4 separate regions of the Homo sapiens genome follow, and regions 2, 3 and 4 are each linked to region 1. Evidence: promoter capture Hi-C in human tissues and cell types (Jung and others, 2019). All regions are on one chromosome and are shown on one strand. The core of a region is centred on a gene start or on the middle of the fragment in contact, and the rest is flanking DNA. Distances in the headings are between cores, read along the strand shown.

Region 1 (2,841 bases), core at 214-2,713:
CATAAAATTAAAAACCGAGAAATAACCACTCATAATACTTGGTATTTTCTTACTTTTTCTTTTTCTTTTTCTTTTCTTTTTTTTTTTTTTTTTGAGACAGGGTCTCACTCTGTCATCCAGATGGGAGGCAGCGGTGCGTTTTCGGCTCACTGCAATCTGTGTCTCCTGGGTTCAAGCGATTCTCCCGCCTCAGCCTCCCGAGTAGCTGGGACTACAGGCGCACGTTATCACTCCTGGCTAATTTTTGTATTTTTAGTAGAGATGGAGTTTCGCCATGTTGGCCAGGCTGGTCTTGAACTCCTGGCCTAAAGTGATCCACCCGCCTTGGGCTCCCAAAGTGCTGGGATTACAGGCGTGAGCCACCGCACCAGGCCTTTTCCATTCTTTTGTCCACAGTTTTGCAGTATTTTAAATTGTACTAGGGGGGAAAATCCCTATTTTAAAAGAATTCTACAGCTAATATTTTCATAAAGCAAAGTGAATTGCTTTATGAAAACAAAGCACTTCTATTCACTTTTGATAATTGAATAGCTGGTCACCTTTCATTTACTTGTCACATATCGGCATTTCTGTAAGCTGGATTTTTGAAAGCAGCCCAGTCTGAAGCAGGGATGTAATAAAAGGTTTTGGAATTAACCAAACTTGAATTTGAATTCTCATTATCCCTTTATTAGCTAAATGACACTAAACAAATTGTTAACTTTTCTGTACTTCAGTATAGAATTTTGAGTTGTTCGGAAGAAGAGCCAAGACCCTTACCTACCTACCTATCTGTCTATGTATCTATCCATCTATCCATCCCTGGTATACAGTAGGTGATCACTGAGGGCGGCATGACCTTATATCCTGTGTTCACTCACCCTCCACCCCACCACCACTCCTAGTCTTTAACACCACCCACAGGAAAACAGAGGATTTCACTAAGCACTATAGAGAACGTGTCCTTTTCTGGCTGGGCACGGTGGCTCATGCCTGTAATCCCAGCAATTTAGGAGGCCAAGGCAGGTGGATCACTTGAGGTCAGGAGTTCAAGAACAGCCTGGCCAACATGGTGAAACCCCGTCTCTACTAAAAATAAAGTCAGCCAGGTGTGGTGGCATGCACCTGTAATCCCAGCTACTTGAGAGGCTGAGGCAGGAGAATTGCTTGAACCTGGGAGGCAGAGGTTGCAGTGAACCGAGATTGCGTCACTGCACTCCAGCCTTTTTTTTTTTGAGACTCCATCTCAAAAAAAAAAAGAAAGAAAGAAAGAAAAAGAAAGTGTCCTTTTCTGTTTTGTGCACCACAAGAGTTTTCTCCCCAGGAGTGCAAATAGGATGCCAAAAATGGGGATAAAGGAAAAGATTAATAAGGTGGGCGGGCCAGCACTAGATGCCTCCACCCCGCCAACCCGCCCGCCTCTCTGCCCCACCCCAACCAGGTGTCAGCCCTAGTCATTCAGGAGATTATTGCAGAAGTTTCCAAACTGAAGCAAGCTGTGCCCAGGTCCCTGTAACAGCAGGTGGCTTTCTGACATCAGCAGAGACTGGTGCTTTTTCCCAGGTACAAAGGACCTCCAGACCAGAGCCAGCCAGCAGCAAAAAGAGCATGGAGCTGAGGAGTACAGCAGCCCCCAGAGCTGAGGGCTACAGCAACGTGGGCTTCCAGGTGAGCAGAGCTTTCCTCTTATGTTAAAGGCCTTCAGTGGAAAAGCTGCCCTTTCCTTAGCCCCTTGGCAAGTTTCTTACCTAAGCAGGGAGATTATCAGGACAATACGATTTTTAACGGCACACTTTAAGCCCATTATTTTTTCTTCTTGGGCTCTTCTGGGTTGACAAACCTGAAAAGTCTCTTTTAATCGATGTGTTGTGATCCCTATGGTCACTTAGAAACAAGACAGCCTTCTTCTCTTGCCTTTTTTCCCTTCTGGCTCACAGCAGGGGTCCATTATTTATCTTCAGGCACTTTTCCAAAGAACTGGTGAGAAGGGAAAAATGGGGGAATTTAGATCCTGGCTGGGGTAGTGTCTCAGGGTTCCTTTTACTCAAGCCAAGTCCTGGAGCCCCTGTCAGATGGCCCCGGTACCTGCCCCAGAGCAGCTGGATTACGCAAATCAGTCTCACTTCATCAACCAAAACTCACTGAGTGATTAATGCTGCTCAGCCCGAGGCTGGGTGCCCGCAGAGACATAGAAGGAGACCTGTCAGAAACACCAGGCTATTTTGACTGGGTCTGGGATGGGGATTTCCAGGGCTGTTTTTAGGTGTGCTTCCTTTCCTTAGCTGACACTCAGCATGGGCGCTCTGGAGAAGATGGGAAGCCTGCACCGGCAAGTGTCAACAATCCCTTGGACTTTACGGTCTGCTAGATGGGCAAAACAAAACTTTGAGGTGCTAGCCAAGAAAGGAAAGAGGGAGGTAAAAGGGCTTTGACAGGAGTTCAGACTCCAGCACCCACAAATTCCTGTAACTTCCCAGAGCCCAAGTTTGATCATCTGTCCCATGGTCACAGTGATGCCCATCTCCATGAGTAGGCATCGGGTTACCACTTATAGGTCACAAGTGTAGGAGAGGAAACAACTTCATCTACCCTCTTAGGTTGAGTGCCTGAGGCCTGCAAATTAAACCAACATAAAACAGATTAGCAGGAGAAAAGGCACGCAAATTTTATTCATATTTAAAATCTCACATGTGGCTGGCAGTGGTGCCTCATGCCTGTAATCCTAGCACTTTGGGAGGCTGAGGCGGGCTGATCATTTGAGGTCAGGAATTTGAGACCAGCCTGGCCAACATAGTGAAACCCCATCTCTACTAAAAATACAAAAATCAGCCGGGCATGGTGGTACATGCCTGTAGTCCCAGC
Region 2 (2,876 bases), core at 14-2,513, 1.1 Mb before region 1:
AGGAGATGGAGACCATCCTGGCTAACACGGTGAAACCCCGTCTCTACTAAAAATACAAAAAAATTAGCTGGGCGTGGTGGTAAGTGCCTGTAGTCCCAGCTACTCGGGAGGCTGAGGCAGGAGAATGGCGTGAACCCAGAAGGCGGAGCTTGCAGTGAGCCGAGATCGCGCCACTGCACTCCAGCCTGGGTGACAGAGCGAGACACTGTGTCAAAAAAGCAAGCAAACAAACAAACAAAAAACTTTGTGCTGGTTTCCTAGCACTGCTGTAATAAATGCCGGCAAACTGGGTGGCCTAGAACAACAGATATTCGTTCTGTTGCAGTTGTGGAGGCCGAAAGTTGGAAATCAAGGTGTCGGTGGGACCATGCTCTCTTGAAGGCACTGGGAAAGAGTCTGCCTCATGCTTTTCTCTTAGCTTCTGGGGTTGCCCGCAATCTTGGCCTTCCTTGGTTCATGGCCGCATTTCTCTAATCTCTGCCTCCGTTGACACATGGCGTTCTTCTCCTGGGTGTCATTTTCTTCTTCTCTTTTTGTAACACAGCCATAATGACCCTAATGGCTCACCCTAATGACTCATCTTAGCGCCATTACATCTGCAAAGACCTTATTTCCAAATAAGGTGGGTGGCATATATTCTTGGGGGACAACATTGAAGCCATAACAGTCCTATCATTTCCTACAAGTGATCTATCATCCTTTTAAGTCTCCAAACCCACTGAGTAGCAAGGAAAAAATAAATTTAGTCCAGTCCAATAAACTCAGCCCAATCCAATAATTTAAATAGTCTATTCATTCTCTACAGGCATGACTAAGATACATGCTCAGTCTTTCTTATTTCCTCCCCCTTTTCTTTATATCTCCACAAAATGAGAGCTAGAGGTTTAGAGGGCTGGGTTTCTATGACTTCATGATTGTAGAGGAAGGGGCTGACTCACTCTGTCCTTGGATCCTGGCTGGTCTCTGCTGCAGGATGACAGCCCCAGTTTGTTCTGGAAATCATTTCCACTGAAGAAAGACTGGTCCCATTTAACATTTTGGGATTATATGCTAGTGTCTTCCTCTGGAGTCCCCCGGGATCTTGGCCATCAGTCCCTGAAATTTAGAAATCATTTTTTCATCCCAAAGACTGGCGTTCAGGTGATTATTTTATTAAAGGAACCAGGAAAACGGCTTTGAGGTGCAACATTGGTCAATGACCTCTTTGTTTCTGGTAGCAGTCAACCTTCCCTCCTGGAGGAAATGACCCTCATTGTATAGTTTTCTCTTTGCATGAAAACAAGATACAAGGGCAAATAAAAACCATGTGGTCTATGAGTTAGCTTCTGCTGTGTAACAAAGTATCTCAGAGCTCAATGGCTTAAGCAGAGAGTGGCAAACTGTGGCCTGCAGTATGTTTCTGTAGGACCCACAAGCTGAGAATGGTTTTACATGTTTAAAGCGTTTGGAAAACAAAATAAGATATGCAACAGAGACCATACCAAATATTTAGTAAGTCTAAAATATTTACTATTTGGCCCTTGATAGAAAAAGTTTGATTACCCTGGCTTAAAACAAAAAGCGTTTCTTATTGCGCCCAAGTCTCTGGGTTCTTCAGCTCCTGGATGGTCTCCTTCATGCATCTGAGGCTAGCTGTGGGTCAGGCAGGCAGCTTGGCTGATCTTGGCTGACTTTTCTCACATGTTTAGAGGTTGTTGGCTGTAGGTTGATCTAGGATGGCCTTGGCTGAGGCAAATGAGCTCTTGTCTCTGAGCTCTCTCCTCTTTCCCCAGGCTAGCCCAGCCTTGTTAACACAGTGGAGGTAGCATTCCAAAAAAGAGCAGAAATGAGCAAGATCTCTGAGGTCAGACTTGGATTTGACACACCTTCATTCTGCCACATTGTATTGGCCAGAGATCCCAGCCCAGATCTCAGGGTGGGGAAATAGACTCCATCTCTTGATAGGAGGAGCAGCAAAGTCACATGATAAAGAATGTGGGTGTGGGGAGTGGTGAAGAATTGAGGTCATTTTTAGTATCAGTCTGCCTCATATGGGTAATTTTCTAAACATTACCCCAGTAGCAAAAAAGAGAATTTTATTTATTAATATTTCCTCCAAATATTCCTTATGATCTTAAAATCCACATGTGTAGAAGCAATTTTGATGTGATTTAGAGCACATTAGGAACTTTTGTGCCTTATTAATAGAACTCTTAGGTTCTAAAACCCTAGGGTTAAGATTTTAAAAATTTTACACTAGGGCTGTTTTCTTTTTCTTTCTGTAACATTTTCTCTTCCCATTTCCAGATTTCCCCACCTGAAGACATGTTAGTTTTATTTTGTCAGTTTTTAAATTAACAATAGCTACTGTATTTTCCTGTCCCTTCAGTTCATAACTTCTGAAATCTGAGGTGGTTTAGGGAGTCCTTGAGAGGTGACCCCCAATACCCACCTACCACCTCCCCCATGAAGTTGCTGTTAGCATCTCTTCTCAGGAAATTTGTTTTTTTAACTTCCACATTGGTGCCCAGGAGAACCATCTCAAATTTTATCCCAGCCAACTTCAAGATGAGTTTGCCACCAAACTTCCCTTCACCCAGTCTCCAAACCCTGTGATTCATCTTTCCCTTTGTTGGGAGCCCCATGACTTTTGCTTGATGCTGTTTTAAGAGAGGGAAATGAAGACAAACCACAAAGATCCAAATCATTGACTCTTGGAGACTGAAGGAATGTCCAGCGTTTCTCTGATACGTTGCACTCTATTGTCTTTAAGAAGTGACCGGCCAACTTCTTCCTGGCTGTCTCCGATGTCAAAGAGCTCACTACATATGAAAGAAGACAGTTTTGACCAATGTAGACTCTGCGTATAGCTCCAAGATACCCTAAGAAATATCCAT
Region 3 (2,926 bases), core at 61-2,560, 1.1 Mb before region 1:
CTTATATCCCTCAAAAAAAAAAAAAAGAAAAAAAAAACAGAAAGAAAAGAAATGAAAAAAAGTCAAAGCAAGGAAGAAAGGAAGGAAAGACAACGTTCCTGTGATGTCTATTCTTTATGAGCCGTCATACCCAAAATCTACCTTGGAACAATGGAAGCAAATTCAATGCAACTTTTATTGTACTCAAATGTGTTTGATCTGTTTGAAGAACTTCTTTTGTGGTGCACTCATAATACAACATCATGCTTCACTTTGGGTATTTATATTATGTGTTCTGTAATTATCTATGCTCATATTTGCATTTCCTAGAAGCCTATAAGTCTCTTTTAAATCAATAATTTATATTTTTATTTAAATTATGCAACATATAATTGAAAGTTAAGTGTTGCCATTAGGCTTATAAAGAAAAACATTCGTTAGTGTGAGTAAGGATGACCTTCCAAAGTTTATTCATTCATACATTTAAGCAGTCAACTACCTCATCCCACTCTATTCTCCCGGTTCCACTTCTCCAATGCGCCACTTTGAACTCTTTTACGTGTTTCATATGTGTGTATGTGTGTGTGTGTCTATACATACATATATACACACACACATGGATACATATTTCTAAATGATTTGCTTCAACATCTATTTCTTGATTTGTCAATTTCAGATTTTTCATTGTCTCCCTATTATAAGTGGTTGAGTATATTAGGATAAGTCATGCTAGCTGCTATAGTGAACAACCTTCCCATAATGGCAGCTTATCACAATAAAGTTTTCTTTCTCTCTCAGTGTAGGTCATTGAGGGAGGGTACAAAGTTGTTCTCCACACATTCAGAGACTCAGCCTCTTGCCATCCTTTGATGCCACCATCTTCAACACGTGACCTCCAAGTTTTCTCTGGAACAGGAAGAGCGAACAGAAGATTAAATGTGAGAGATTTTATGGCCAAGGGGTGGCACATCATCACTTCTGTCCACTTTCCCTTGTTCAGAACTCAACCACAAGATGCCAAGCTATTTGCTGAGGATCTGGACATTTAGCTGTGTGTCCAGTGAGGAAGAAAACTGGGTTTGGTGAACACATACCATTGTCTCTGCCATGGTGAGTTCCTGCTCCTTCCTGTATCCTTCCCCTATCCTAAAATCGTAACAGTTTTAGGTTGAACTTGTATTCTACGTTTGCATCTAAGTGATTATTGAACTGTTTTTCACTGCTGAGCCAACTAGTGTACTGAGGTTATGTCCCCTTTCTTGTACATCTATTTTTTGAAAAGTTTACACAGAAACAAAAGTTTTGTGTAAACTTTTGCTTTTACACAACAGTTTAAAATTCTTCCCCAAACACTCAACCATTGCTGTAGAGTGCCTATCAGTAGCACTTCCACACAACGCAGGGCAGCAGGTAACCCATCGGTTCCAACTCCCCCTTCCTAAGGAGCCTCCCATTTGTTTTCTAGCTTGATCTATCCATAGTGCCCCGCTGTTGCCCTAGCCACTCAATTTGTATTAATAATCCAGGAACTTCCCGTTATCCTTCAAGAGTTTCCTGAGAAAGGACACATGGGAGGTAAGTTTTGAGTTATTGTATGCTTGGATTTTCTTATTCTACTTTCATACTTGATAAATATTGGCTTGTTTCAAATATAGGTTGAAGATAATTTTCCCTCAGGATTCTTTAGGCATTGCTCCCTTGTCTAGTTTACTGTTTTTCTATTAAGACGTCTGAGATATGTGACACTCACTACACACTCCCCCAAGCTTTAATAGCATTTAAAATCCTCTCATCCTTGAGAATTTGAAATTATTCTAAGATTGTTTCCCTCAGCATGGATCATGTAAACATCCATTGTTTTTCTGATTATTTGGTGAATCCCTTCCATGTGGAAGTTTTTCCAAGGAAGAAGCCTCCAATCCCTGGAAGGTGGAGGAGTCCACATGCCCGTGGCTGCTGTGGGGAAAGGGATGATGGTGGAGGGAGCAAGCCCACTCACTCCTGCCCCTTTCTCTGCCTATGTCCCTCAGCTTGTGGTCACTCTCATTCATTTTATTTCCAGAGAGAAGCCTCCTGTATTATGCAGCATGGAAGGGCTGCAGGGTGGTGTTGTCACTGGACTGTTGGGAACAGGAGGTGATCGAGTGATTGAACTATTCTGTAAACAGTGAATGCCTCAGAAGTACTTGAAGCACCAACTTCTGAGCCTTTCTGGGGGCTGATGAAGTGAACTGGCTCAGTCCTTTTCACTACAGCATTCTGCAGGCACTTCGACTGCATAGCTCCTCATTCTTCATTCTTTTGTCTACTTTCTACTCCAAAATGTGTTGACATCTCTGTCCTGCCCCATTTTCCCCTTTCTCCCTCATTCCATTCTTTCCTTCCTTCTGATCTCAGTTATTTGTGGAAGGAAGGGAGAAAGGAGGAAAAAGAAAAAAAGACAATTGTTATGTTAGAATATAGATTGATGCGATAGGAAAATAGAGCAAGCAGTCAATATGGACTAGGAGGGCTGTGAAGGTGGAGTTCTAATGTGGGGGTCTGAGAGAGCCTCGTTATGAAGGTGAATCTGAGCAACATTCAGAGGAGACAGAGCAAGCCTTGGGAACATTGGGAGGAAGCGCAGTTGGGACAGAAAGGGCAGCCAGTGCAGAGGCCCTGATGTGAGGGCGGTGCCCATCAAGGCACAGTGAGGAGGCCCACGAGGGGCACAGAGAAGTGAGGCGAGAGAAGTAGGAGATGAGGCGAGCCAGGCAGCCCAGGTGGGATAGGGCCTTGCAGGGCGTTGTAGGGACTTTGTCTTTGACTATGGGAGCAATGGGGGAGGCTTTGGCAGGTTCCTGAGCAGAGGGGGGACAGGATGGGACTTGGGCTTTAGCACAGTCCTGCTGGCTGCTCAGTGGAGCAGGAGTGGAAGCAGGGAGAGTGGTTAGGAAGTGATCACAAT
Region 4 (2,968 bases), core at 149-2,648, 1.2 Mb before region 1:
AGGCTTTATTCAGGTATATTCTACATATCATATACTTCATCCATTTCAAGTGTATAGTTCAATGATTTTTTTTCTTTTTTTTCTTTTTTTTTTTTTGAGATGGAGTTTCACTCTTGTTGCCCAGGCTGGAGTGCAATGGTGTGATCTCGGCTCACTGCAACCTTTGCCTCCTGGGTTCAAGCGATTCTCCTGCCTCAGCCTCCGAAGTAGCTGGGATTACAGGTGCCTGCCACCACACCCAGCTAATTTTGTATTTTTAGCAGAGACAGGGTTTCACCATGTTGGCCAGGCTGGTCTCGAACTCCTGACCTCAGGTGATCCACTCGCCTCTGCCTCCCAAAGTGTTGGGATTACAGGTGTGAGCCATCTTACCTGGCCTAAATGCCTTTTCTTAAAAAGTGAAATCCAGTTCTGGTTTTTTTGTTTTGTTTTGTTTTTTTGAGACAGAGTCTCGCTCTGTCGTCAGGCTGGAGTGCAGTGGCACTGTATCAGCTCACTGCAACCTCCGCCTGCTGGGTTCAAGCCGTTCTCTTGCCTCAGCCTCCTAAGTAGCTGGGACTACAGGCACATGCCACCATGCCTGGCTAATTTTTTGTATTTTTAGTACAGACAGGGTTTCACCATGTTGGCCAGGCTGGTATTGAACTCCTGACCTCTTGATCTGCCTGCCTCAGGCTCCCAAAGTACTGGGATTACAGGCATGAGCCACGGCGCCTGGCCCGAGCCTTAGTTTTTAAAGAAACTCAACTGAGCCCTGGAGGCAGAGTATGACTAATTGAGGTTGTTTCCGAATGTCAGGTGCTTGATTCCTGGGTGTCTATTCAGTCTGGATCTTTAGTTGGCAAGTGATGAAAACCCAGCTTGGCTAAACCTCAATAAAAGAACCACAATAAAGAAGGGAGTTTATTGGCTTACATAATGAAATGCCCATGGGGTAAGTCTAGCTTCAGGTGTGGCTTGATCCAGAGGCTCAAGGGATATTGTTAGTTCTTGGTTTCTTCCCAACTTGTGTGTTAATTCAAAGGCTCTATATGCTGGTGAGATGGCTGGAACCCCTCTTCTTGGGTTCAAGTTCAGGTTCAAGTTCATTTGCCAAATGTCTCTTTCACATCTGTGTTTATGTGTGTGTTGTGATTGTGTGTTTTGTGCATATGTGTAAGAATATATGTTTGTGTATGAGTTTGTGACTGCGTGTTTGTGTCATATGTATTTATGAGTGGGTGTGTGATTGTGTATGAGTTTGTGACTTAGTATGTTAATGTGTGGGTTTTGTGTTTGTGTGTTGCGTGTGTTTATGCGGTATGAGTGTATGTTTATAACTGTGTGTGTTGTATGCATATGTGTGTGTGTTTGTGTGTGTGTGTGTGGCAGGGAAGGCATCTATGGCATAGAAATGATGCTGGGAAGCTCTGGCTGAGTCTTTGAATGCCATGGTGCTGTAGACTGAATTTCAAGTGACCCGTAGGAATTTTTAAACAGGGTGACCAGGTCATTTACGTAATTCAGAGCTCACCGCTGAGCAGTGTGGGAGGCTGATGGGAGCAGGCAGGGGCTGCAGGGAGGCCCGAGAGGAGAGAGGGTCATGGAGTTTTAGCCTTGGCCTCTCAGCAGGGAGGCAGCTGCAGTCTTGGAAACAGTGACTAGAGGGGGTGGGGCCTTGAGTCCTAAGGCTGGCGTTCAGGTTCCAGCCTGTCCCATACAGCAGGAAGGATGAGCCATACAGCGGGGAGGGCAGCAGAAGCCCTGGAAGGCCATGAGGCTGCTCACCACTCTGGCAAGGCTCTCCTGCCGCCATGACCTGCTGGAAGGATGACTGGGCAGGGCGGCAGTCTGTGGACTGATACTGCTCTGAAGAGTAAGTGGTACTCTTGGCCTGGACCTACTGATTGGTGACTGGGGCCTAACCCTGCCTACTCCAGTGGTTTCTGGAAGTTTCCATAAATGACTTTTAGGATGCCGTGGGAATAATATTTATTTTGCTACTTCCTTATGGAAACCAAATGCACATACATGTATTCATTAGCCACATGTAAGATTGGCTCCATGGCAGACAGATGACTACCCCTTAGAGTCCCAATTCTTGGAGTATGTTGCAAAGAAACCTGATGCCCACGGATGAATTAGTTCAGATAATCAGCGACTTTTTTTCAGATTATTTAAAACTTTCTTTTCTTTGGAAGGATGACTGAGAGTGAATTTGTAGGGAATTATACATGGTTAGTGGGTAGAGCAGTAAGGAGGAGAACTGACATACAAATAAATCAGATTAAAAATTGGTTTCTGATGTCTGGGAGCCTGCCAGCTTTGACTCCCCAATGGCGAATTGACTCCAACTAAAAAGATCCTTTAGATCCTTCTGTCTCAACCCTTTTCTCATATCATATATCCCATAATACAGCCAGACATAAGAGAATCGAGTCCAAATCCCTTATTGTTGCAGATGGGAAAACTGAGACCTATGCAGGTCACATGCCTCTGAAGCTTACACAGTGTTTATGGCAAAGCAAAGGCTTGAACCTGGTGGTTAGCTACTGAGTCCCAGTATTTAAACATTTTTATTTCATTGCCTCCTTATGCAAACCAGGTGCACACAGATATGTTTATGGGGCATATATAAATTTGGCTCTGTAGATGAAGGCTGATTTTGGTTTGAGGTAAGAAAGAAAGCAGGAATATAGGATTGTCCTGCCAATTTTTGTATTTCAAAATAAGTAAATCTAAGTTCAATTTACAAGTATGCCTTCTTATTCTTTATTACCTTGACAATGGAATAGAAAGGGGAAGAAATTTATATGAAGATACATGGGGGTAAATTGAGTGAGATAGGATAAAAGGGAGAAAATAGGTCTATTCCCAAGGGGTTCTGTGAGCGAATGAGACTTCCTTTGCTGCGTGTGTGATCATTGTTCATTTGTTCAAAGCCCTCATTCATCCTATGCTCCAGTCACCATAGTAAGGGCCTCATATG

The links. Contacts are between HindIII fragments. The study calls those that stand out against the background at their distance.
Region 2: a fragment that was not itself captured here is called in contact with the fragment with the promoter of SLC28A3 in region 1 in 1 of the 25 tissues and cell types used here (lymphoblastoid cells).
Region 3: a contact is called between a fragment that was not itself captured here and the fragment with the promoter of SLC28A3 in region 1, in 1 of the 25 tissues and cell types used here (dorsolateral prefrontal cortex).
Region 4: a contact is called between a fragment that was not itself captured here and the fragment with the promoter of SLC28A3 in region 1, in 1 of the 25 tissues and cell types used here (dorsolateral prefrontal cortex).

The regions. Positions count from the first base shown.
Region 1 is chr9:84,339,380-84,342,220 of GRCh38, reverse strand. SLC28A3 (solute carrier family 28 member 3) reads left to right here and starts at 1,463. Exons shown (of 18, transcript NM_001199633.2): 1 at 1,463-1,647. The coding sequence starts at 1,588. The HindIII fragment of the contact is 14,043 bases long and covers 1-2,841 here.
Region 2 is chr9:85,421,654-85,424,529 of GRCh38, reverse strand. All of the region lies in intron 2 of LOC105376121 (a long non-coding RNA gene), which reads left to right. Among named protein-coding and RNA genes, the nearest start is that of AGTPBP1, 320 kb to the left of the region's middle. The HindIII fragment of the contact is 6,241 bases long and covers 1-2,876 here.
Region 3 is chr9:85,480,312-85,483,237 of GRCh38, reverse strand. No RefSeq gene overlaps it. Among named protein-coding and RNA genes, the nearest start is that of AGTPBP1, 260 kb to the left of the region's middle. The HindIII fragment of the contact is 7,526 bases long and covers 1-2,926 here.
Region 4 is chr9:85,513,130-85,516,097 of GRCh38, reverse strand. No RefSeq gene overlaps it. Among named protein-coding and RNA genes, the nearest start is that of AGTPBP1, 230 kb to the left of the region's middle. The HindIII fragment of the contact is 3,134 bases long and covers 1-2,965 here.